Regions from separate parts of the Homo sapiens genome. Here all the other regions are linked to region 4. The links are contacts of gene promoters, found by promoter capture Hi-C in blood cells and fetal thymus (Javierre and others, 2016). All regions are on one chromosome and are shown on one strand. The core of a region is centred on a gene start or on the middle of the fragment in contact, and the rest is flanking DNA. Distances in the headings are between cores, read along the strand shown. Region 1 has its middle 23 kb from the start of AKR1C1. Region 2 has its middle 41 kb from the start of AKR1C1. Region 3 has its middle 66 kb from the start of AKR1C1. Region 4 holds the start of TUBAL3 (tubulin alpha like 3). Region 5 overlaps LOC107984198 (a long non-coding RNA gene).

The links. The method cuts DNA at HindIII sites, captures the fragments that hold promoters and counts their contacts. A CHiCAGO score of 5 or more calls a contact.
Region 1: a contact is called between a fragment that was not itself captured here and the fragment with the promoter of TUBAL3 in region 4, in 2 of 17 cell types (M0 macrophages and M1 macrophages). The highest score is 5.4, in M0 macrophages.
Region 2: a contact is called between a fragment that was not itself captured here and the fragment with the promoter of TUBAL3 in region 4, in 2 of 17 cell types (M2 macrophages and M1 macrophages). The highest score is 7.8, in M2 macrophages.
Region 3: a contact is called between a fragment that was not itself captured here and the fragment with the promoter of TUBAL3 in region 4, in 7 of 17 cell types (M2 macrophages, total CD4 T cells, M1 macrophages and 4 more). The highest score is 8.6, in M2 macrophages.
Region 5: a fragment that was not itself captured here is called in contact with the fragment with the promoter of TUBAL3 in region 4 in 2 of 17 cell types (M0 macrophages and erythroblasts); the score reaches 6.6 in M0 macrophages.

Annotation. Positions count from the first base shown.
Region 1 is chr10:4,938,125-4,943,550 of GRCh38, forward strand. No RefSeq gene overlaps it. Among named protein-coding and RNA genes, the nearest start is that of AKR1C1, 23 kb to the right of the region's middle. RefSeq lists a cis regulatory region at 3,334-3,905. The HindIII fragment of the contact is 1,507 bases long and covers 1,531-3,037 here.
Region 2 is chr10:4,919,544-4,925,002 of GRCh38, forward strand. No RefSeq gene overlaps it. Among named protein-coding and RNA genes, the nearest start is that of AKR1C1, 41 kb to the right of the region's middle. The HindIII fragment of the contact is 7,566 bases long and covers 1-5,459 here.
Region 3 is chr10:4,894,821-4,900,131 of GRCh38, forward strand. It overlaps the pseudogene AKR1C6P. Among named protein-coding and RNA genes, the nearest start is that of AKR1C1, 66 kb to the right of the region's middle. The HindIII fragment of the contact is 9,579 bases long and covers 1-5,311 here.
Region 4 is chr10:5,402,747-5,407,888 of GRCh38, forward strand. It overlaps TUBAL3 (tubulin alpha like 3), which reads right to left and starts at 2,082. Exons shown (of 4, transcript NM_024803.3): 1 at 2,044-2,082. The coding sequence starts at 2,046. The HindIII fragment of the contact is 4,190 bases long and covers 1-2,705 here.
Region 5 is chr10:5,039,538-5,044,695 of GRCh38, forward strand. The region is part of intron 3 of LOC107984198 (a long non-coding RNA gene); the gene reads left to right. Among named protein-coding and RNA genes, the nearest start is that of AKR1C2, 38 kb to the left of the region's middle. The HindIII fragment of the contact is 2,781 bases long and covers 1,538-4,318 here.

The sequences.
Region 1 (5,426 bases), core at 1,034-3,533, 460 kb before region 4:
ACTCTTATTTTAGCAATGTGGTAGTCATTGGTGACTTTATAAGAACATTTTTAGCAGGACAATGAGGGCAGAAAAAAAACCTCAGTGACATAAGTTTAAGAGATGGTGGGAAGGAGATGAATGATTAGAGCTTGGGTTGCAATATCTATGAGCGTATTGAAAACACCAGGAAGGATGGCAGAAGTAGGACTGCACAATGTAACTCAAACACAGGAAAAAATCTCTAAGGAATCAGAGCAAGTGAGGTAGAAGGCAGGTGATTGCCACAAGGAAAGGTAGTTTGAAAAATGGGTGTTTCTAGGGAGCAGGAGGGGGACTGGGTAGATGAGGCAGTGAGGAGAAAGGAGGATGTCTGTCCTCCCTCCATGCTCCCTGGGAGGACAGTGGGAGAGGACCCACACCTCCCCTTAGGAGCACTGCAGGAGAAACAGAATCCTCATGGAAACTAGAAGTTTGGGTTAGAAAAACAGGGGAGGGAACAGAAGCTGATAATATTAACATAAAGTGAGAATTTTGAATTTTCTAATGGGAAGTTACAGGTTCTAGAAGGACCATCAGAAGGGTTTTAGAATTAAGGAAAGTGTGAGAAAAAGTCAGAAAACTGGAGGTAAGAGCTCTAGGGAATGAGAGTTCAGTTCAGAACTGGAGTCCTGGGCTCTTTTGATGACTGAAATAAAAGTGGGAGAGAGCCTAAGGAAATTACCCTGGGGACATCATGGTGCCTTGTGGTGCTGAGGCTGTGAGCTTTGAAGTGGGCAGCTGAGGGCTTGGAGGCTTCTGAGAAACATTCAGACCTCCAGGACCCTCTCTTGAATTCTGACCCTGAAGAAGAGGTGTCCAAAGAGCGATAGACTCACCAAGACAGTGAAACTCGCTCTATTTAAGTCAGAGTCATCTGGAGAATGGATAGAATGGAGGACTTACGCATCTCTTTCAATAAAGTATGTTTCTTCTAAGTGTAACAGACATCATCATGCAAAGTAGGTTTAGGGTGAATGCCATGTCGCCTCTATTTTTCTCTTGCAACTTGGATATATCAGAATGAAAGCTGACAGAAAGAAGCAAGAAGTCAGGAGCTCACGTTCTGTGTTCTTCCCCGCGGAGATGAGGGCTCCTGATGAGTGATCAAACGCTAGAAGGGGGTGAAGAGTACCACATTATTACCAATGCCCAGGACAGATGCCAAGCTGGGCAGTGATGGCGTGCAGAAAAGCCTCAGGGGAAAGACACAGCAGAAGGGGAGAGGGAGCATTTCTGTCTTTGATTCCACACCTGGGAAGGAAGCAGAGTCAGGATTAGTGAACAATATTCAGAATTATGCTTAGTTGGATCCCTTCATGTAAGTTCTGAGAAACTGCTGGGTGATGCCCAGGCTGAAATATGTGCTGAGATCAGCAGCCTTCCCTTGAGCAAAGTAAAGGATTTTGTTTTTAACAACAAAACACATTTCTTGTGTACCCTGAGTGTTTCCCAGAGACTCTCATGACCTAGTGCTTACTATGGAGGAATGTTTTCATTCAGATGAAGGAAAGCTTTCCATCAATGCAAGCATTGTGACAAGTTGATAGCCATTGCAACCCAGCTGTCCCTCAGAATGAGTGTGTTCACTGGAGGAGGTGACAACATCTTCATCATATTAATGAAAGCAAATGTCTAGGTTTTTTAGCAAAAGCACGAACTCTGAAAGAAAGCATAGTTACACATTAACCAGCTTGCCCTGTAGCCCACTTCCATGTAACTTCTTACACTTTGGAATCATGTAGTCCCTATCACAAGGTCCTAACCTCATAGATAACATCTCAAACAGTAGGAAATCTCACGTTTTCCACTCGAGATATTTTCTGCATCATGCATTATAACAGTTCTACAGATGCCATCCAATCTACAGCCCCCTCCGAGGAACTGACTCAGCCCCACAATGCAGTTACCACATCCTTAGGCTTTCATAGTCCACACCCTGGCCAGTCAGCACCCCGCCCTGCTCCTCAGCCCCCTGCCTGCCAAAATTCCCTTGAAACCCCTGTCTAAAACTCCTCAGGGCAGTGAATTCGAAGTTTCCTCCTATCTCCTCATTTGTTTGCCTTCAAGTATTAAATCCCTTCTCTGCTCAACAGCCGCTATTTCTGTGTGTTGATCAGTTACTGTACAATGAGCACAAACACGGGGATCTTGTACAGAGGCTTGTCCTGTCAGGTTTCCACTGGAAAGCTGCCATAAGCCCAAGGAGAAAGTGAGGCACAGACAGCGTCTTCCTCAACTTCCTTCCAGAGGATCGCACTACACACCCAACAGCAGGCTCTCAGAAGTCTTAACATATAAAAACGTAGTAGATAGGTAAATAGACTTGCAGAAGGATAGGTTTTCCTCCCCTCAATTCTTAACATATTCACCCTCACTCATGCACATTCTCATGTACAGTTTCCCAGTTACCCTCCCTAATCAGATGCTCTTACCAAACTGTGTCCTGTGTCCGGCTGTGTGCAGTTGGGGGTGAAGGGAAGGGAGGAAGGAAAGACAAGAGACTTGGCCCTGATGGTCCTCAGTCGTGGGGAGACCAATCTTAGGCCATGCACTATTCCTTCATTGCCATTGTCAGGGCCATGTTTGCTACTTCTGGGACTGGGTTTTATTACTTTCCTTCACCTTTTCTGCTTTGCATGGGAAATGCAGATACCCATGTAGGCACAAAAGGGCATTTTCTTCCCTCTCTCTTCTGAAGTTTTGATAATTAGAGTGTATAAAACAAACTGACAAGTGAAAGGTTAATATAAAAAGACAGCAAATTTGTATATATGTACATGGACATCAGATTCCTGCCAATAAGAGACTCCAGGGTGGTCCTGATGACAGAGGGTTTCATCACATCCTGAGGCTACAGAGAGAACAGGGGCTTGGGGTCTCTGGGGGAGGTGGAGTCTCAGGTAATGGGGGAGTGGAAGAGGCACACATGGTGAGCCAAGGCTGTCCCCACATAGATGTGAGCCTCTCAGGGGCTCGCCAAGCTGACCTCAAGAAGGTAGGTGGCGGCCTGTGGAGAAGCTTCTCAGTCAGACCTTTAAAGTGTCAGGATCTTAGTCTGTTTTTCCTGGAAGTTAATCTTTCCTTGATCCAATAAGGCATATAAAGGGGTCCTCAGAGAAAGGCTTTTACCCTCTGTTCACTTCACTAATGTACATTTCCTCAGCACTTACAAATCTCTGCGAGAGAAGAAAGCTTTTCAGGTCTATTTGTGTGTCAGCAGCCTCTCTGAATTGTGACCCCTCTGAATAGCCACATAAAATATGCCAAAAAAGTACATTTTGAGTGGCACATTTTGCTTTCCTTCGCCCTGTATAACACGTCTTAAAAACAAGAGTGTACCATGAGGTCCACAGCCGGTGGCCCCACTCCTGCCTCCTGAACAAAAGCTTCAACAAAAGGGATAATTTAAAAATGAGCAGCTCTATTTCATGGGCCACTTTCCAACCACCTGGCACTAAAGTAAAAGACCGGTGCAACTCAGAACAGGTACAATGATCCAGGCTTGTGACTGGCAGGTCTAGAATGCCATAGAAGTCCCCTAGTCACTGTGAGTCAGCAAGATTTTCCAGAGAAGGAGGTTGGAGATAACACTATGGAATCACTTTTAGAGGATCACGCCTGGTGGATGTGAGTGCCTTATTGAGGGGTGGGGTAGAGCAGACTTTTCTGACACGTGAAAGCAAATGGGCCTGCTCCACCCTTCAGTGCAAACCAGCCATCTGAAGCTGCTCTTATTTAATCATAGGGAAACAGTCACTTGCTTCAGTAGAAAACATTTTCAACTTACTCTACTATCGCATAAAGCAAAGGCATACAGTTGAAACCACTTGTGCTTTTAACATTTCTGGACCCTCCTATACCTATGAATAAATTTAAATGACTTGCTTATTCCAAATGAAATCCCTATGTTATTTAGGAAACATGTTTAGGAAAATACTGGACTGGAGAGAAAAACAACTCACAAAGAGTCCTGTACTCTTCCGGTGACCTACTTCACATTTAGAAGTTTGGTTAGTTTTTATGCCAGTCAAAACATCCTGCCATGTAACTATGGAGCATGTTCAGTAAAATCAAATGTTTTGCCCACACAGACAATAAAAATGAACTTTAATGTTTTTTGCCTTGGTCTTCAAAAATGCACCCAAAGGAGAAACACTGCATTTCCCAAACAGGACAAAGTGATTTGGTGCCAATCTCTTAAGAATGAAGAATGAAGTGTTTAGCTAGTTTGAGAGTCAAGAAAAATTGAGAAATGCAGAACTCAAGTTTCACACTAGAATATCGTTGTTACAAGTAACAGGAGGAAAGAAAAACCCATAGTCTTGGCATTACCCATCATTTTTTAGGGAATTTTCTATACCTTCTCTGTATATTGATTTTTCAACCTTGGATGCCAAGAAGGTATAAAATCCCATGTCCAGGCATCAGTACACACCCTCTTCTCTCAATGAGAGAAAAATACCTAGGACTTGTGGGGATACAAGGAACCCTTTGGCCAAGTGATTAGTCTTTGGTCCTTAACACTCAGCCTAGTACATTTTGGGCTGGGAGAGGGGAGGTGGAAAAATGGGGAATATTAACCTCACGACTAAACAAACACTAATGTTCCTTAGTGGAAAAAAGGTTATCCTGTTGAACCAGCAAAATGACTAGAGGTTTCTGCAAACGGCTAGAGGTTTCTGCAGACATTCTAGTTCATCAAAATATTTTAATTAATTTTAATAATCTTAGCGAGGTGCTAAAAGAGGGACCCTAATGGGATGTGAGACAAACACAAAGAGATTTTAGTTTTATGAAAAGCAAACTCTATGACTTCACAAACTAGATTTTGTATTAAGGTCGCAATGTAGCCAAGTAATTCTGGGCATGACTGTTTAAAACAGGAATGTGAAACCAGAGAAAGGCAGCCCTCCTTTGGCTGGGCGATGGCATAGCAGACCAGGAACTTTCCCCCACATGGTGCTCTATACAGGACAGGGGTGAATCAGCTCAGCTACACCATGTGCCTTAGAGACTCTGAACATGAGACATGTGGAAAAAGACCCTAAAAAATAATTACAGGCAGAATGCAGGAAAAACAGCCAGATGGCCAGGCATGGTGGCTCATACCAGTAATTCCAGCACTTTGGGAGGCTGAGCCAGGAGGATCTCTTCAGCTCAGACCAATCTGGAAAACACCTTGAGAACTCATCTCTGCTAAAAAGAAAAAATTTTAAAAATTAGCTGGGTGTAGTGGCACCTGTCTGTAGTCTCAGCTACTTGGGAGGCTGAAGTAGAAGGATTGCTTGAACCCAGGAGGTCAAGGCTGCAGGGCATTGTGATTGCACCATTGCACTTAAATCTTGGCAAAATTTTTTACAGTGGCAACACAGGTTATGGGATGGAGAGAAGAACAAGCCTGGCTA
Region 2 (5,459 bases), core at 854-3,353, 480 kb before region 4:
TTCCTGAGACAGAGACTACCTCTGTTTTCCAGGCTGGATTGCAGTGGCGCAATCTTGGCTCGCTGCAACCTCTGCCTCTGGGGCTTCTGCATAGTTGGGGTTACAGGCTTGCACCACCACACCTTGCTTAATTTTGTGTTTTTAGTAGAGATGGGGTTTCACCATGTTGGTCTTAAACTCCTGGCCTCAAGTGATCTGCCTGCCTCAGCCTCCCAAAGTGCTGGGATAACAGGTGTGAGCCACCAGTCCCAGCTACTTGTGCCATTTTCAATGTTTTACCACTCTCTATAGCTTTTTATCCTTCATATTCACCATTACTATCATCTTGTAAGGTTGTGTGACTTTTTTATAAATGACATTTGGATTCCCTTCTCATTTCCTATTGAGTATATTCTACAGTTATTCTCTGTGATTGCTATGGGGATGACATATGATTTTATAAAATTATAACAATTTATTTTGAATCAATACCAATTTAACTTTAATTTTATATAAAAACTCTCCCTTTCCCCAGGTTTTTACTCTACTTCACATTGTTTTGTCACTAATTACAGCTTTCTGCATTGTGTACATATTAACTTAGAATTATACTTATTTCTATACGTTTATATTTTAAATCTTGAAGAAAAATAGAGTACAATTCCAAAATTTCAAAAATACATGTTTTCATATTTTGCCACCTATTCACATTGACTAGATGTCTTTATAGGTCTAAATGGCTGTAAGTTACTATTTCCTTTTATTCAACCTGAATAATTCCCTTCAGCATTTCTTGTAGAGAAAAAATAATGAAATCAGGGATTGGAGGTCCCTATACAATTTTCTTACATCCCAAGTGTTCCTAAAACCAAGTGTTGAGCTTTAAGAAATTCTGAGTAAGTTTTTGTTTGTTTGTTTTTAACTAAGAATTTTGTGGAAACAGAGGGTAAAGAACTGGAATAAGCCTGTAGCAGATTTAGTATTTACAAATGACTGTCCTAATGATTATTTCACATCTGGAAAAACATGTTATGCATGCTAAAGAAATCTGAAATTTAAAATATTTCCTAAGAACTACACACTTGACCTGTAAGTTTTAAGAAAATGTCATTCTTTTCTTGGTAGTTACATCAATCAACCTTATGAGATGTGAAATAATTATTAGTTAAAATAAGAAAGTTGAGGTGGAACAGGAGGCAGTTGTTTACATGGTTTGTTTGAGACATGCTAAGGGTGAATGTCCCTTAGACACTAATAGGAGATGTAGAGCACACATTGTTATGTTCTGTCCTGGAGTTTGGAGGAAAAAGCTCAGCTAGAAATATTTTTGGGGTGTTTCTCAACCTAAAGGTGGTATTTAAAGCCAGAGATCATCAAGGGAATGAAAATAGACAGAAAACAGTCCAAGAAATTGGCCTAGGGCGCTCCAAAGTTTATGACCTCCCTCAATTTTAAGGAATAAATAGTTTAAGGAAAGATTGTGGGCTGCAAAACTTGCTGGGAGACCTGGCTTGAGAAAGCCTCTTTGATGGGGTTAAGGTGGCCACCAGACTAAGAACAATTGAGAGTGAAAGTGTTAGTGTGCCCAGGTCAAAAACCACTGTCCTCAAAACGCTCTCACCAGGATATCCCAAGTTTTCAAAAGAGCTGCCTGAAATGAAAATTTATGTCCCCATGATTAACTGATTTACTTCGTACCCCTAAAAACTATGTAAAAGAATTACATATATTTGTAAGAGTTGTTCCTGACATTTACTAAAGTTTGAAAACATTGTGCAATTTTGCAGACACTGTTTCCAAAAGATTTTTGGGATTTTGGAGAATTTGCTTTATTAGATGTATTATTTACCATTTTGATCTTAATTTGAGAGTAATATGTAATGGCTTTAGAACATTTTGTCTTTTATACTTGTAAGCATGCCTTACAGCTCTCTTCCCACCGTAACCACATGCCAAAAGCAAGGAAATTAACATGAGTGACCTAAACAGACCTTTTGCAGTAAAACACATGTTGATGAGATTACAATCCTGACCCCAAAACCATCACTTATTTTATGTATGAAACATGTAAAAAGATCAAGTATCATAAATTAATAGTATATTTTTGGAATCTAAGAACATTCTCTAAAGATGGGGTTGGTATTTAGGGGAATCTGATCAGTCAATGGTGTCTTCAATGTCCTTTCCCACCACAGCCCAGTACGGTCAGTGCTGTAACTGGCCACACATCAGAGGTCCAGGCCTGACTCTCAGCTCTAGGATTTCTTAAAGCATTGTGGAGAGAATTTCCTTTTATGCACAACATATAATTATCCAAAAAATGGTGCCAATGTATTTTTCCAAGCATACATGTACTCAACCCTCTCCTTCTAAACCTCTTCAATATCTGACTTCTAATCATTTCTCCTGGGTGGGTGCCCTCCCTCCTCACTGAACACCCCTCCCACAGGGATGCCTCATTCCTAGGCTCTGGGAGGGATGCCTCATTCCTAGGCTCTGGGAGGGATGCCTCATTCCTAGGCTCTGGGAGGGAGCCTAGGAATCTGATCCCTGCACTGCTGGAGGAAGCCCATGGATTCCTGGTCATCCTTTCAATAGCCCTCACCCTCCAGACTCGATGCTGTGTGTGTTCTTGTTCCTCAAATAGCTAAAGATGCACTGATATATACCTGTCACCAGCTCCTTCTTTAGAAGCTGGAAATCACCCATGCCCACCTAAAAATGTCTATAAAATGGTTGTCATCATCTCCCACCCCCTGATCCTAACTTATAAGCAAATCACCATTTTTGAGCTAATGAGTCAGAAAGAAAGAAAACATACAAGTAATGGAGACCAAAGTAGGTAAAGAATCTTTGGAAGAGAGCACTCAATTTTTTCAAAGAGAAAAAAAAAATATTGTCTTTCCCTTCTGGCCTGTGAACTTATATTTGGCTGACTGAAGTCGCTAAGCAGGGTAGATTTAGCCAAAGGCGATGTGTCCAATCACCAGCATAAAGACGTCCTCTGTGTCACCATCCACACACAGGGCCTCTGATAGAACTCATACAAAGTCCTCCATGTTAATATTCACCTGAAAATGGATAATCAGGGTGGCCAGCAAGACTGAAGAAGAAAGGATAATGCATGATAAGAACTGCAATGATTCCATTATTGGGGGGGTAGCACAGTGATTTCTAGGAAGCTGCCATTAGTGTGGATGTTAAGAAGTTCATTTTCTGATTGCTGGAGTGTCTGCATTTTTTACTTTTATGAACATGACTTTACAGTATCTGTATTATCAAAGTAATAAATTATTCAATTCTACTCCCCTGCCTGGAACTTAATACATAAAACACAAATTCCACCGGGCCCAGTGGCTCACGCCTGTAATCCCAGCACTTTGGGAGGCTGAGGTAGGTGGTTGTATCACCTGAGGTCAGGAGTTTGAGACCAGCCTGACCAACATGGTGAAACCTCGTATCTACTAAAAGATACAAAAATTAGCCGGGTATGGTGGCAGACACCTGTAATCGCAGCTATTTGGGAGGCCGAGGCAGGAGAAGCATTTGAACGCAGGAGGAGGAGGTTGCAGTTAGCTGAGACAATGCCATTGCACCCCAGCCTGGGCAACAAGAGCGAAACTCTGTCTCAAAACAAACAAACAAAACACACACAAAGTCAAATGTTCAAACATATTCCTGTACATCTGCCTACAGAGCAAAGAGATATTCTATTTCAAATTCTCAATGGAAGTAGGAACTCTTTCTGCCTTACTTTGAAGGAGAAACAAGTTATACGCTCATCACTAATAAATAATTTTGAGTGTGAAAGGCTACTGGTAGCAATTAGGCTTTCTTTTATTACTTTATTTATTATTTACTGCCTGCCTACCATATGCAACATATTTGTTAGTTTCAGAAATGTAAATTGTTGTATATGATCCAGGGTCCAATATCCAAGAAAATACAATGCACTAAAAATGTCTATGTAGACATAATGCAAAAAATAAAGGGACAAATAAATGCCTGCTTATCGTTAGATATTTCATTGGTGGTAAGAATTACAGATGCTTGCTATTCTTCCTTTTATTTAATAATTTCCTTTTTATTTTTTATTTTCCTCTATATTAATAAAATATCAACAATGGTATCTACCAGTTTTTGAGTTCTTATGATATGCCATTGTGGTTATGTTTTTCACACATTATCTCATCATCTCTATTCTTAAAATCTCCAGTGTCAGCAGTTACATAACTTCTCTTTTCCCTCATTACATCGGTGACCATCCATGACTCCTAAAACCTTAAAGCATTTGAAAGGCAGTCTCCCAATAGATAGAAACACCTGAAATCGGTAAAGACAGTAGTTACATTGCCTTACTGTCCATCAATGCTAGATTGCAGTCTTTTTTTTATCTTTTGTTTTAGGTTCAGGGTACATGTGCAGATTTGTAAATTGCATGTCATGGGGGTTTGGTGTGGAGATTATTTTGTCACCCAGGTACCAATCACTTGAATAGAGTGTCCCTTCCCCAGTGCTTGTTTTTATTAATTGACAGAAATCAGATTATTGTAGTTGTGCAGCATTACTTCTGGGCTCTCTATTTTGTTCCATTGATCCATGTGTCTGTTTCTGTACAAGTCTCATGCTGTTTTTGTTACTGTAGCCTTTCAATATAGTTTGAAGTTGGGTAATGTAATGCCTCCACCTTTGTTCTGCCTTGACTATTAGAGTCTTTTTGGTTCCTTATAAATTTTAACATAGTGTTTTTTTCTAGTTCTGTGAAGAATGTCATTGATAGTTTGATGGGAATAGCATTAAATCTGTAAATTGCTTTGGGCAGTATGGCCACTTTAACAGTATTAATTCTTCTTATCCATGAGCATGGAATGTTTTTCCATTTGTTTTTCTCGTCTCTGATTTCCTTTGAGCAGTGTTTTGTAATTGTAATTCTCATGGTAGTGATATTTCCCCTCTGTGGTTATCTTATTCCTAGATATGATGCTCATTTACCATTCCAACAATCCTAGGGCACAGACAATCACACACACACACAGGTACACACACTTACATGGAGTCATGCACACAGGCACACACACATGCACACACTTGCATACACATACACACTAGCACACAAACACATATACACACAGGCACACACACACACAGGCACACATACACACAGGTGCACACACACACAGGTGCACACAAACACATATACACACAGGCACACACACACACAGGCACACATACACACAGGTGCACACACACACAGGTGCACACACATACACACACAGGCACACACACAGACACTCTCATCTTCTCCAGCTCTTCTTCTTCTGTGTATTGATGTTATCTTCAGGGTGGGTGGAGGCTGCTGAAGCAATTTTTGAACTCACACTGCAGCAGGACAATAGCTACTTGCAGAAGAAAGGCCACCTTATTTTAAAAATTTCTTCCTAGAAGTGAGGAATCCTTCCTAGAAGCCCCTAGCATAGTCC
Region 3 (5,311 bases), core at 1,956-4,455, 510 kb before region 4:
TCTAATATCGTGCATTCTGGATTTGTCTTATCATTTCTTTTGTGGCGTTAGTTGGTTTCTCTATCTCTTTCTGTAAATAGATATTGGATTTAAAGACTTGATTCGATTCCACTATTTAATTTTTTAAAAATTTTTGTGGGTACATAGTAGGTATATATATTTATGTTGTACATGAGATGTTTTGATACAGGCATGCAATGTGTAATAATCACATCATGTAGAATGGGGTATCCATTCCTTCAAGCATTTATCATTTGTGTTAAAACAATCCAATTGTACTCTTTTAATTATTTAAAAATGTACAATGAAGTTATTATTGACTATAGTCACCCTGTTGTGCTATCAAATATTTAGGTCTTATTTATTCTTTCTACTTTTTTTGTACCCATTAACCACCTCCACTTCCCTCCCCTCCAACCCCCCTCCCCAGCTACACTTCCCAGCGTCTGGTAACCATCCTTCCACTCTCTATGTCCATGAGTTCAATTGTTTAGATTTTTAGATTCCAAAAATAAGTGAGAATATGTGATGTTTGTCTTTATGTCCGTGGCATACTTCACTTAACATAATGATCTCCAGTTCCATCCATGTTCTTGCAAATGACAGGATCTCACTCTTTTTTATGGTTGAATAATACTCCACTGTGTATATGCACCATATTTTCTTTATCAATTCATCTGTTGATGGACACTTAGGTTGCTTCCAAATCTTAGCTATTGTCAACGGTGCTGCAACAAATACAGGAGTGCAGATATTTCTTCTGTATACTGATTTCTTTTCTTTTGGGTACATACCCAGCAGTGGGGTTGATGAATCATATGATAGCTCTCTTCTCCGTTTTTTGATGAACCTCCAAACTGTTCTCCATAGTGGTTGTACTAATTTACATTTTCACCACAGTGTACGAGGCTTCCCTTTTTCTCCACATCCTCTCCAGCATTTGCTATTGCTTGCCTTTTGGATATAAGCCATTTTAACTAGGTTGAGATAATATCTCATTGTAGTTTTGATTTGCATTTCTCTGCTGATCAGTGATGCTGAGCACCTTTTCGTATATCTGTTTGGCATGGGTATGTCTTGTTTTAAGAAACATCTATTGGCTTAGGATTGACTTGGCAATGAGGGCTCTTTTTTGGTTCCATATGAACTTTAAAGTAGTTTTTTCCAATTCTGTGAAGAAAGGCATTGGTAGCTTGATGGGGATGGCATTGCATCTATACCTTAGGCAGTATGGCCATTTTCACGATATTGATTCTTCCTACCCATGAGCATGGAATGTTCTTCCATTTGTTTGTATCCTCTTTTATTTCATTGAGCAGTGGTTTGTAGTTCTCCTTGAAGAAGTCCTTCACGTCCCTTGTAAGTTGGATTCCCAGGTATTTTATTCTCTTTGAAGCAATTGTGAATGGGAGTTCACTCATGATTTGGTTCTCTGTTTGTCTGTTATTGTTGTATAAGAATGCTTGTGATTTTTGTACATTGATTTTGTATCCTGAGACTTTGCTGAAGTTGCCTGTCAGCTTAAGGAGATTTGGGGCTGAGACGATGGGGTTTTCTAGATGTACAATCATGTCATCTGCAAACAGGGACAATTTGACTTCCTCTTTTCCTAATTGAATACCCTTTATTTCCTTCTCCTGCCTGATTGCCCTGGCCAGAACTTCCAACACTATGTTGAATAGGAGTGGTGAGAGAGGGCATCCCTGTCTTGTGCCAGTTTTCAAAGGGAATGCTTCCAGTTTTTTGCCCATTCAGTATGATAATGGCTGTGGGTTTGTCATAGATAGCTCTTATTATTTTGAGATACATCCCATCAATACCTAATTTATGGAGAGTTTTTAGCATGAAGCATTGTTGAATTTTGTCAGAGGTCTTTTCTGTATCTATTGAGATAATCATGTGGTTTTTGTCATTGGTTCTGTTTATATGCTGGATTATGTTTGTTGATTTGCACATGTTGAACCAACCTTGCATCCCAGGGATGAAGCCCACTTGATCATGGTGAATAAGTTTTTTGATGTGCTGCTGGATTCATATTTTATTGAGGATTTTTGCATTGATGTTCATCAGGGATATTGGCATCATGCTACCTGACTTCAAACTATACTACAAGGCTACAGTAACCAAAACAGCATGGTACTGGTACCAAAACAGCGATATAGACCAATGGAACAGAACAGAGCCCTCAGAAATAATGCTGCATATCTACAACTATCTGATCTTTGACAAACCTGACAAAAACAAGAAATGGAGAAAGGATTCCCTATTTAATAAATGGTGCTGGGAAAACTGGCTAGCCATATGTAGAAAGCTGAAACTGGATCCCTTCCTTACACCTTATACAAAAATTAATTCAAGATGGATTAAAGACTTAAATATTAGACCTGAAACCATAAAAACCCTAGAAGAAAACCTAGGCAATACCATTCAGGACATAGGCATGGGCAAGGACTTCATGTCTAAAACACCAAAAACAATGGCAACAAAAGCCAAAATTGACAAATGGGATCTAATTAAACTAAAGAGCTTCTGCACAGCAAAAAAAAAACTACTATCAGATTGAACAGGCAACCTACAGAATGGGAGAAAATTTTTGCAATCTGCTCATCTGACAAAGGGTTAATATCCAGAATCTACAATGAACTCCAACAAATTTACAAGAAAAAAACGAACAACTCCATCAAAAAGTGGGCGAAGGATATGAACAGACACTTCTCAAAAGAAGACATTTATGCAGCCAAAAGACACATGAAAAAATGCTCATCATCACTGGCCATCAGAGAAATGCAAATCAAAACCACAATGAGATACCATCTCACACCAGTTAAAATGGCGATCATTAAAAAGTCAGGAAAAAACAGGTGCTGGAGAGGATGTGGAGAAATAGGAACACTTTTACACTGTTGGTGGGACTGTAAACTAGTTCAACCATTGTGGAAGACAGTGTGGCGATTCCTCAGGGATCTTGAACTAGAAATACCATTTGACCCAGCAATCCCATTACTGGGTAAATACCCAAAGGATTATAAAACATGCTGCTGTAAAGACACATGCGCACGTATGTTTATTGCGGCACTATTCAGAATAGCAAAGACTTGGAACCAACCCAAATGTCCAACAATGATAGACTGGATTAAGAAAATGTGGCACGTATACACCATGGAATACTATGCAGCCATAAAAAATGATGAGTTCATGTCCTTAGTAGGGACATGGGTGAAGCTGGAAACCATCATTCTCAGCAAACTATCACAAGGACAAAAAACCAAACACCGCATGTTCTCACTCATAGGTGGGAATTGAACAATGAGAACACATGGACACAGGAAAGGGAACATCACACACCGGGGCCTGTTGTGGGGTGGGGGAAGAGGGGAGGGATAGCATTAGGAGATATACCTAATGTTAAATGACGAGTAAATGGGTGCAGCACACCAACATGACACATGTATACATATGTAACTAACCTGCAGGTTGTGCACATGTACCCTAAAACTTAAAATATAATAAAAAAAAACTAAGAAAAATAAACAAACTTTATAAGATAAAGCTGGAAATAATGACAGATTAAAAAAAATCTATTCAAATCTTTTGACCATTTTTTAAATTGGATTATTACATTTTTTTCCTATAGAGTTGTTTGAGCTCCCGATGTATTTTGGTTATTAATACCTTGTCAGATGAAGAGTTTGCAAATATTGTCTCCCATTCTGTGGGGGTTTTCGCTTCACTTTGTTAATTGTTTCCTTTTCTGTGCAGAGCTTTGTAACTTATGATTCCGTTTGTCCGTTTTTGCTTTGGTTGCCTATGCTTATAGGGTATTAGTCAAGAAATTTTTGCCCAGACCAATGTCCTGAAGATTTCTCCAATGTTTTCTTGTAGTAGTTTCGTAGTTTGAGATCTTAGATTTAAACTTTTAACCCATTTTGATTTGATTTTTTTGCATATGGCAAGAGATAGGGGTCTAGTTTCATTCTTCTGCATATAGATATCCAGTTTTCCCAGCACTATTTATCGAAGAGATTGTCTTTTCCCTAGTGTATGTTCTTGGCACCTTGTTAAAAATGAGTGCACTGTAGGTGTGTAGATTTGTTTCTGGGTTCTCTGTTCTGTTCCATTGATATATGTGTCTGTTTTTATGACAATACCCTGCTGTTTTGATTACTATAGCTCTGTAGTAAAATTTGAGGTCAGGTACAAGGCTACAGTAACCAAAACAGCATGGTACTGGTACCAAAACAGATATATAGACCAATGGAACAGAACAGAGGCCTCAGAAATAACACCACACATCTACAATCATCTGATCTTTGAGAAACCTGACAAAAACAAGAAGTGGGGAAAGGATTCCCTATTTAATAAATGGTGCTGGGAAACCTGGCTATCCATATGTAGAAAGCTGAAACTGGATCCTTTCCTTATACCTTATACAAAAATTAATTCAAGATGGATTAAAGACTTAAATGTTAGACCTAAAAGCATAAAAACCCTAGAAGAAAACCTAGGCAATACCATTCAGGACATAGGCATGGGCGAGGACTTCATGACCAAAACAACACAAGCAATGGCAACAAAAGCCAAACTAGACAAATGGGATCTAATTAAACTAAAGAGCTTCTGCACAGCAAAAGAAACTACCATCAGAGTGAACAGGCAACCTACAGAATGGGAGAAAATTTTTGCAATCTACCCATCTGACAAAGGGCTAATATCCAGAATCTACAAAGAACTCAAACAAATTTACAAGAAATTAAAAAACCTGTCAAAAAGTGGACAAAGGATATGAATGGACAGTTCTCAAAAGAAGACATCTATGCAGCCAACAGACACATGAAAAAATGCTCATCATTACTGGTCATTAGAGAAATGCAAATCAAGACCACAATGAGATACCATCTCACACCAGTTAGAATGGCAATCATTAAAAAGTCAGGCAACAACAGATGCTGGAGAGGATGTGGAGAAATAGGAATGCTTTTACACTGTTGGTGGGAGTGTAAATTAGTTCAACCATTGTGGAAGACAGTGTGGTGATTCCTCAAGGATCTAGAACTAGAATTTCCATTTGACCCAGCCATCCCATTACTGGGTATATACCCAAAGGATTATAAATCATGCTACTATAAAGACACATGCACATGTATGTTTATTGCAGCACTATCCACAATAGCAAAGACTTGGAACCAACCCAAATGTCCATCAATGATAGACTGGATTAAGAAAATGTGGCACATATACACCATGGAATACTATGTAGCCATAAAAAATGATGAGTTCACATCCTTTGCAGGGACATGGATGAAGCTGGAAA
Region 4 (5,142 bases), core at 832-3,331:
TATTGTGAACTGCGCATGCAAGGGATCTAGGTTGTGTGCTCCTTATGAGAATCTAACTAATGCCTGACGATCTGAGGTGGAACAGTTTCATCCAGAAACCATCCCCACTGCCGACTCCATGGAAAAATTGTGTCCCACAAAACTGGTTCCTGGTGCCAAAAAGTTGAGGACCACTGGTCTACACAGACCACTAGTCAGAGGAAAGTAAGGAGAGGGCTCTGGTCGGCCACACCCCTGCAATCTGACTTGGACTCTGTTCATGCTCAATGGCATCAAACCTTTGTACTTTGTCTCTGTGATTCACAAGGCATAACAGCCCTCTGCTTCATGACCAATTCAAGTTCACTACCTTAGTAGGGCTTCCATCTTGTTTATTTTCTGTGCAACTATCAGTCTCTCTAATTTAGAAAGCACTTCATTTAGGACAAACTAATATTCCACCTCTCAAGACAGCATATTCTGTTATAAACAGGCTTCGAATACCCCTTATCAGGCTTCAGATAACCTTAATCTTATTCCTCTCCCCTTCTGTCGGACTTAAAGTGCTGCAAATACATCAGCTGCTGTAATCTGATCAAAACTTGGCTCCTTAAATTTAAGTTAACATTTTAAAAGGAGAGGGTGAACGTTCATTGTTTCTACATCATTAAAACCTCTTACTTTGTAAAGTTTACATGTAGATTTCTCTGTCTTCTCCACTGGCTACCACCCAGTCCTGTGTTACAGTGACGAGTAAAATTCAGGTGTACATGTGGTATTTGTTCATAATAGTCACAGTAAAAATAATCACTAACATTAAAAAAAAAAAAGATTGTTCCTCTTCACGTGGTCTGTTCAAGTGACTCAGAAAGCAGAGTGATGCTGTTCTTTTTGAAATCAGCACGAATAGCCTGGACTAACAAGCATCCTTCGTCTTTGAAGGAGCTTAGCTTATAACATAACTCTGTCCAAGGGTGTAGAAGACTATCTTTGCCTTATTCTTCTCTTAGCCTCTCCCTTTTTTTCCAAATTCTCTATGAAAATATTAGTCACACTATAAAGTAGAAGACTATAAAATGTCCACTGAACGTCAACACTGATAAGTCATAGCACATTATTAAACGCTGCTATAAGGATTATTTGAATTACTAGAAAAGCATAACTCTCAGTTAAACTTTCAATTTTGAGGTCTTTGTAGATTGATATGCAGCTGTGAGAAATAACATAGGAAGATCCCTTGCATCCGTTACCCATTTCCCGCAGTGGAAACATCTTGCAAGACCATAATACAAAATCACACCCAGAATGTTGACAGTGATAAGATACAGAACATGCTATTATCACAAGTCTCTCTCATGTTGAAAGGCATAATTTTTAAAAGCAAAACAATTTAAAATTTTTTAAATGTTGGACAGAGAGACCAATGGGGTGAGAAATCAAAGATCAAGAAGCAGTTCGAAATGTTGCTTCCATTGAAGAATTAAAAATTCAAAGATACTGAAAAACTGGCACAGAAAAAAATAAAGGGCAAATGGATCTGAAAAGGTCATCCCAAAACAGAATTATTGTAAGTTATTCTATTCATTGTGGTGCCCAAAGAACTAAACTCAAGGGAGGGCAAAGAAGATGTCTGCGCACTTTACCCTGCCAGGCATTTATGAGGTTAGCCACGGTTACCTAAGTCTGAAGTCCTCAGAAACTCTTAACAGCCTAACGAAAAGTGAAGCAATGAATATCTACAGAAAAATCAGCACTCTGGGCCTAAAACAAAGGTGAAAACTAAAGGAAGGAAAGGTTTTTGCTTCAGTGCTTCAATTAATGGCAGTGAGCTACTGCAAATCAACTGAGCTTTACCTTGAAAGAAGCAACATTACAGAGGAATAGATTACAGCCTGTCCACATCTGCTCCCAACTCATCTACTTGGACATTGAAAGAAACAAATGTTTCTTTACAAATGTCTTCTCTTGCATTACAATTTTATTAAGAATTGTTTGCTGTGGGAAAAGGGCCAAATATGATTAGTAAAATTTCCTACAACAATGCATAGGCGTGTAGTCACTTACCATGCTGATGAGAACGTGCCCTTCCTGCCCTGTAGTAATGACTGAGGAGCCTCCCAGCTGAGCTTTATCACAGGGCCCGGAAATGACTCCACCTGAGGGCTGGAGCTTTCTTCACTTAAAGCAGTATAGCTTCTTTTTAGTTTTTTTAGTTATCTGGTCTCAGAGTAGCTGTGTTGGGCCTGAACAACCCGGGATAAAGTTTGTACACAGCTGCAGATGAACTACTGAGAGCTTATCCAAATCTGCGTCCAACTTATAACTATGTTGAAAAGAACATGTGTCTTTTAAAAATCACCCTTTTGGGTTAAGAATTTATTTAGCATTGGCAGAGAAAAGGAAGGAGTATGAGTAAAATTTTCTGCAACAGCAAAGTAGCTTTTTCTATTGCATGAGTACTATGTGAATATCTTCTTAAATAAATTTAAACAATCCCTGAATACATACAGCAAACCAAGACAGTGTCCTTTTTACATCTGTGTCCTATGCATGCCTCTCAACCACTACCACATCCAAACATATGGGAATTTTCTGTTTTTATTATTATTGTCTTTTGAACTTTTATATTATTATACATAATATATACTTATGTTATTATTTTTTATTAATTGCACTAAGATCAGATCACACATCTTAACTGAGTTCTCTCCTTATATATTTGCTAAAGCTTCCTTTATATTCTACTATATGGTCAATTTTTGAAAATATTCCATGAGTGTTGAAAAGAATGTGCATTCTACATTTGTTGGATGCAATATTTTAGATAGACCGATCATTCAATCAATCAATCTATTAAATCAAATGGATTTATTGTGTAGTCCAAATTTTACGTATCAATTATTTCAAAAGATGTATTAAAAGTTTTCATTATAATTGTGAATTTACCCATTATTTCTTTTTCTGTCAATTTTTCCTTTATACATTTTGAGGCCATGTTATGAAGAGCACATAAATTTTAAATTATTATATTTTCAAAAACTTTAACAATTTTTTATTTTTAAATTACCCTCCTTATATACATTAATTATTTTTACCTTAAAGTTTTTTTTTTTTTTTTTTTGAGATGCAGTCTTGCTCTGTCGTCCAGGTTGGAGTGCAATGGTGCGATCTCAACTCACTGCAACCTCCACCTCCCAGGTTCAAGCGATTCTTCTGCCTCAGCCTCTCAAGTAGCTGGGATTACAGGTGTGTGCCACTATTCCTAGCTAATTTTTTTGTATTTTTGATAGAGACAGGGTTTCACCATGTTGGCCAGGCTGGTCTTGATCTCCTGACCTCGTGATCTGCCCGCCTTGGCCTACCTTAAAGTTTTTATGATCAAATATTAATATTACTACTTTAATACAGTTTTTTGGTTCACATTTGAATGATGTATTTTCCCATCGTTTTACATTCTTAGAAACTTAAAACCTTTCCATATTCTCATATTTTGGATGTGTTCTTTGTATGCATGATATAACTGAATTTTTTTTCTATTTTTGTATTTGAATTGGAGAATTCAGCTCATTACATTTAATATAATAACTAATATAGTTGGGTTTAGATATAGAGTACTATTTTATTTTGTGCTTTCTGTTTGTCTCCATTTTCTAAGTTCTCTTTTCTTCCTGATCTTCTTTTGAATTAATGACATGTTTTGTTAGCATAGTAACAATTTTATTATTCAGTAATCAAAACAAAATTTCTGTTACTCAAGAATCTTGGTTTCTACCAATTCTTCCTTACAACTTTGAGAAAATGAAGAAACCATAGTGTTCTTCAGCAATTTTCTCCTGAACTTATTATAAATTATACTTTCTCTCATTTTGATCTTCATAAAGTCAATCCTATCTGTCTCTGTCAATAACTCCCCAAATGTTTAGCATCCTGGTAGTTCCATATAATGAAAAGAAAAATTAAGCCAGTTCCATTTTATAAAATCAGAATGATATTTATTTTGTTGCTGTATCAAATTTTCTCCCACTGGTCCCAGATATTTTCAGTTTGAAACAAGATGAGGGAAAAATCAGATAATGTGAGTATCTCATTTCTAGTCCACTGATGTACTCAGTATCTTTCATTAACTTTTAAAAATTGTCAGTCTGACATGGAGCTATGATTAACTTAGATTTACGTAGGAATTAGAAAGAAACTAGAAAAATCTCTTTTGTAGTATAATTTAAGAAATGCATCTTATCTTTTAGTAATTCCTTATTTCTTTGAAAGACTAAGTCTTAAAGAAAAAAGTTTCCTCAAGTGATAATAATTGGAATTTCACGTCTGAAGAGGCCTTCTGGGGTGATAGTTTTTGTGTCAACTTGGCTAGGCTGTGGCACCCAGTTATCCAATCTAACACTAGTCTGGGTATTGCTGTGCAGGCATTGTGGAGGTGTGGTGAACATCTCCAGTAAACTTTGACTTTAAGTAAAGGACATCATCCTCAATAATGTGAGTGGGCCTCATCCAATCAGTTGAAAGACCATAAGAGTAAAATGGAGATTTCTCTGAGGAAGAAATTTCTCCTAAGGATGGCACCTTTAGTTTCAGCTTTAGCTGTTACTCAGGAGTTTCCAGCCTGCCAGTCTGCCAGCCTGCCCTACTGATTCCAGACTTTACAGCCCCACAATCACACTAACTTATTCCTTAAAATAAATCACACACACAATACTGACTCTGACATACTTGGTGGCCACCCTTAGGTTCTGAGGGTGAAAAAATGGCAGAGTGATAAAAGTGTGGTATTTATAGTTACGATGTCCTTGTTCAAAGTTCCTTTCTTGGCCAGGCACAGTGGCTCATGCCTGTAATCGCAGCACTTTGGGAGGCCAAGGTGGGCAGATCACCTGAGGTCAGGAGTTCAAGACCAGCCTGGCCAATGTGGTGAAACCCCATCTCTACTAAAAATACAAAAAATTAGCCGGGTGTGGTGGCAGGCACCTGTAATACCAGCTACTCTGGAGGCTGAAGCAGGAGAATCACTTGAACCCTGGAGGCGGAGGTTACAGTGAACCAAGGTCACGCCATTGCACTCCAGCCTGGGCAACAAGAGCAAAACTCCATCTCAAAAAAAAAAAAAAGTTCCTTTCTTAAGTATTTTTCATTGTGAGCCAGTCAATTCACTGG
Region 5 (5,158 bases), core at 1,678-4,177, 360 kb before region 4:
AGAATTTTTTGATAAGCAACATTCCATAATCTGATTCCGGATATGGCTGCAGACAACCTCCACAATTCAGGATGTTCCGGGGTAACTATAGGATGAATCATTTTTGGTCTAGGAGGAACGATGACCTTGTCCAACCATTTGAATGGGTAAGGAGACACCCATTCCCTCTTTTTGTAGGACTGCCAGCCTTTCTCTTCATAATCTATTAAATAGTTAAACTCAGGACATTGGGTATTTTGGCCAGAGCAATCTCGCCAATAATATCCTTTTGGGGCCCAGTCAATGACAACACTTGTGATCGGACTCCTTAGCACCACTACTTTTGGGGCATTGCAATCACTCCATAGAATGTTTTGAATTATTAGGTCCCTTTATAAGGTCTTTTAAACAGTCTGGCAATCCTTGTGTTTTATTATGCTTTACTGTGACAGGAATTCTCTGTTCTTCAAATGAATTTATGTTAACGGTCAGAACCTGAAAAGAATTACTACAGAAGACATTATGCACCTGATAAGAATCATTGCTGGAGGCCGGTACAGTCCACATCCAATTTTGATTAGAGAATGCCAAACAACCAGGTGCAAATCCTACACACAATGGTGGAAATTTATATCCAATGGACACATTAAAAGGCATTCCTTCTTCATCTGTTTAAGCCGGAAATCTGTCATCATTAGGGACTGGCATGAATGCACTGTCATTAGTATAAACTTCCACTGAGGAATCCATCCATGAAACAGATCGAATAAGAATGGAAACGGGACATATGCCAGTAGGTGTAATTTTGAGTTGCTGCAGCCCCGGGTATACTTACCACTGCAGTAACTACCATAAAGGCAGCCAAGATAACATTACCCATAGTTTTTGGAATCCCTTTGTCCTGTAGGTGTCTCTCAACCTCTTCGGACATTACTTTTATCTGACCCCCCCACATCAGCAGGGTGGAATTTTAGCATTGGGAGTTATAGGGCGAGGCTGTGAGGCAAACTTGAGATATAAATTGTATTAGTCAGGTGACGAGCCTTGCGTTTTGATTTCTGGCGGCTCTTCTCCTTTTGTTTCTGATGGTTCTTCAGGGCTGGAGTCATGGTACAAATTCAGCTGATGGGAGAGAACCCAAACAGGTTGTTGGTCCTTTCCTGGGGAGACACAAGCAAAACCCCTACTCCATGTTATTACAGTGCGTAATTCCCATTTATTAGTTTTTGTGTCCTTCCACCATACTTGCTTGCCTTTTTGTGGGTCAAATTTATTACCAGCAAAGTGTTGTTCTGCTGCCATGAAAGGTTGGTTCTTGGCCAAATTTAAAAATTTTAATGTGAACAGAGCTAAATTTATCTGAGCATGGGGAGTACTGACATCCCCTTTCTTTTTGTTACCTTGTTTGCGAAGCTGGTCCTTGAGAGGTTTATTAGCTCATTCCACCAGAGGCTGTCCTTGAGAATTATAGGGAATTCCAGTAGTGTGAGTAATGCCCCATGCTTGAGTGAACTTTTTAAAGGCAATGCTGGTATAGCTGGGACCGTTATCAGTTTTAAGCTTAGCAGGGCAGCCCATAACTGAGAAACAAGAAGGCATATGTCATTTAACACGAGCAGTACTTTCTCCTGTTTGGCATGTAACCCAGATGAAATGGGAAAAGGTGTCAAGTGTTACATGTATGAAAGAAAGTCTCCCAAAAGCTGGAAAGTGGGTCACGTCCATTTGCCAGAGTGTGTTGGGGGAAAAGCCTCTAGGATTAACTCTGGAAGGAAGTGGTTGTAGGATTAACTCCGGAAGGAATTGGTTGTAGGATTAACTCCGGAAGGAAGTGGTGTAGGATTAACTCTGGAAGGAAGTGGTTGTAGGATTAACTGCCGAAGGAAGTGGTTGTAAAATTAACTCTTGGCCAGAGGGACAGTGCCGTACTATGGTTTTTGCCTGTTTCCATGTGGGAGGGAACTTGCTTCTGAGTCCTGCAGCATTGACATGAGTTAGGGCACGACAATTTCGCATGTCCATAAAAATGGATGTGGCTAAAGCATCAGCTCTGGCATTTACAGCTGAAAGAGGTCCTGGAAGTGATGTATGGGCTCAAATATGAGTAATGTAAAAGGGGGCACAGTGTGCTCTGAGAACTGTCTAAGACTTTTGAAAAAGTGAAAGTAAACTTTCCTCAGGCAAAAATTTAACACCGTTTCTATGTTGTGGGCAACATGCACGAGGTATGCAGAATCAGAAACAATGTTGACAGACTCAGGAAAATCCTCAAGGACAGTCATAACAGTGCTAAGTTCAGCTCGCTGTACAGAAATAGGTCCTGTGTTAAGAACGCGTTCCCATGGTCCTGTGTATACAGCACGGCCATTAGAGGAAGCATCAGTAAATATAGTAACGGCTCCAGTTAATGGAATACTTCTGGTAATATTAGGTAAAATCCAGGAAGTGAGTTTCAGGAACTGGAACAATTTTACATTAGGGTAATGATTGTCAATTATACCAGGGAAATGGGCCAAATTTACCTGCCAAATAACACAATTTGTAAATGCTTGTCAGAGTTGTTGACGGTTTAAGGGAAGAATAATTTTTTGAGATTCCTGTCCCAAAAGTCATAAAAGATGGGAACAGGCTTGCCTAATGAGGGTAGAAATTTAGTCAAGGTAAATAGTAAGTGTCCTTAGAGAGCTATGGGGAAGAAAACACCATTCAATTATATCATGTTCCTGAGTGATGATCCCTGTTGGAGAGTGTTCAGTGGGAAAAATTAAAATAGTAAAAGGTAATTTGGGATTGAATCTAGTGACCTGAGACCATTGAACTGTTTGTTCAATCAATCATAACTCAGACTCAGCCTCTCTGAGTCTGAGGTTTCTGTAAGAAACCTTTTCCTGTGTAAATCTGGATCCCCACATAATGTGGCAAAAAGGTTTGACATAGCATATGTAGGGATGCCCAAAGAAGGGCAAATCCAATTAATATCCCCAAGTAACTTTTGAAAGTCATTTAAAGTTTTTAAGGCGTCTCTCCTAAGCTGAACTTTTTGTGGTGTAATCAGCTTGTCTTCCAACTGCATGCCCAAATATTGAAAATGAGAGGTAGTTTGAATTTTTTCTGGTGCAATAGTCAAACCTGCTTCTGAAATGGCCTGTTGAATCACAGAAAAGCAGGAAATCAAAATGGTGTATGGGGGGGCTGTGCAGAGGAGATCATCCATGTAGTAAACGATGTAACATCGGGGAAACTGATCCCTGACAGGTTGAAGCACACGCCCCACAAAATACTGACAAATAGTGGGACTATTAAGCATGCCTTGTGGTAGGACTTTCCAATAGTAGCATGTAGCCTGAGCGACATTGTTGAGGGAAGGGACCATAAAAGCAAACTTTTCAAAGTCCTGAGAGGCCAGTGGAATGTTAAAAAAGCAATCTTTAAGATCTATGAGGATTAGAGGCCAATACTCAGCGAGCATAGAGCGGGAGGGTAAGCCAGATTGTAATGTCCCCAGAGGTTGAAGTACAGCATTAACTGCCCTAAGATGAGTGAGCATTCTCTGTTTTCCAGATTTCTTTTGGATAACAAAGACAAGTGAATTCCATGGAGAGAAAGATTCCTCAATGTGTCCCAATTCTAACTGTTCCAGGACTAAATTATGGAGCGCCTCCAGCTTATTTTTTGGGAGCGGCCACTGATCCACCCAAACTGGCTGAGTTTTCAAGTCAAAGGGATGGCATCTGGAGGCTTGACAGTGACTGCTTCTAAAAAGAATAACCAAGCCCTTTGGAGTCAAATTTATAGAAAGGTTGAATAGGCGCAGTAATACCTTGAGCCAATTTTCCCAGACCAGTGTCTTGAACATATCTCATTTTTGTCATAATGTTTTTACTTTGCTCACTGTTGGCAGCATGTGGAAATGAAATTTGTGCACCCCATTGCTGTAAAAGATCTCTTCCCCAGAGATTAACTGGAATAGGTGTAGAGGGTGAACAGTACCAGTCTGTCCCTCTGGGCCAGTACAATGTAAAATAGTGGAACTTTCATAAACCTCAGTGGCCTGACCAACTCCCACCAACCCGGTGAATGTGACTTCTTTGGGCCAGTGACGAGGCCATTGGTGTAAAGCAATAATGGAAACATCAGCACCCAGGTCAATCATGCCCATGAATTTCTTTCTGTGTATATGCGTGGAACAAACAGGTCAGGTGTCAGAAATTTTATTAGCCCAGTAAGCCACTTTACCCTGATTATCTGCACTCCTAAAACCTCCAGTTCTTTTATGAGAACTGGATCTGAGTGGAATGTACAGCAGAAGAAGAAGTTGAGCAATTCAATCTCCTGCTGAAGCTTGGCAAGGAACTGCAGAACTAACAGTAATGTGTATTTCCCCAGAGTAATCAGAGTCAATTACACCATTATGTACCTGAACACCTTTTAAATTTAAGCTTGAGTGACTGAGCAATAAACCAACAGAGCCAGGTGGCAAGGGCCCAAAAGCACCTGTGGGAACAGCTATTGGTGGCTCTCCAGGCAAAAGGGAAATGTCTCTAATACAGCAGAGATCTACTGCTGCAGATCCTGTGGTGGCGGGGGACAAGCATTGAAATGAGATCCTTGTTGGGGTTGTGACATCTATGCTTGTGGCATGAATGGTTGAAGTGGAAACTGAGTGGTTGGATCGATTGGTTGAGCTGGGGATGCCCTCATCTGGCTGCAAGGCCAAGGCTGGGAGTTGGGGAATGCTTCATTGTCTGGAGGGGCCTGGGGCTGGCCCCTCTTACCATTTCCCTGGTTTTGAAGTGGCTGTAAAGGGTTGCCATTAGTGTCGAATTTCGAGTGGCAGTGAGCTGTCCAGTGATTGCCCTTATGGCATCTTGGGCATGGTGTGGATGGTGGGACTCGCAGTTGTACGGCCTTTGGGGATTGGTGTTGTACAGGGTGGTGGTCTGAACACCGAGGACATTTTTTCCTGGTATGTCCAGATTGGCTGCAGTGAAAATAATTACCAGGAAATTGTCCAAGCATTCTAATGCTGGCCATAGCCTGAGCCGTGACCATAGCAGTATGTAACGTTCCACCAACACCCTCACATGCTTTAATATAGGATGTGATTAAATCACTTCCTGGTGGGATTTTACCTTTTACAGAGTGAATAGCAGCCTGATAATCTGGATTTGCTTGTTCA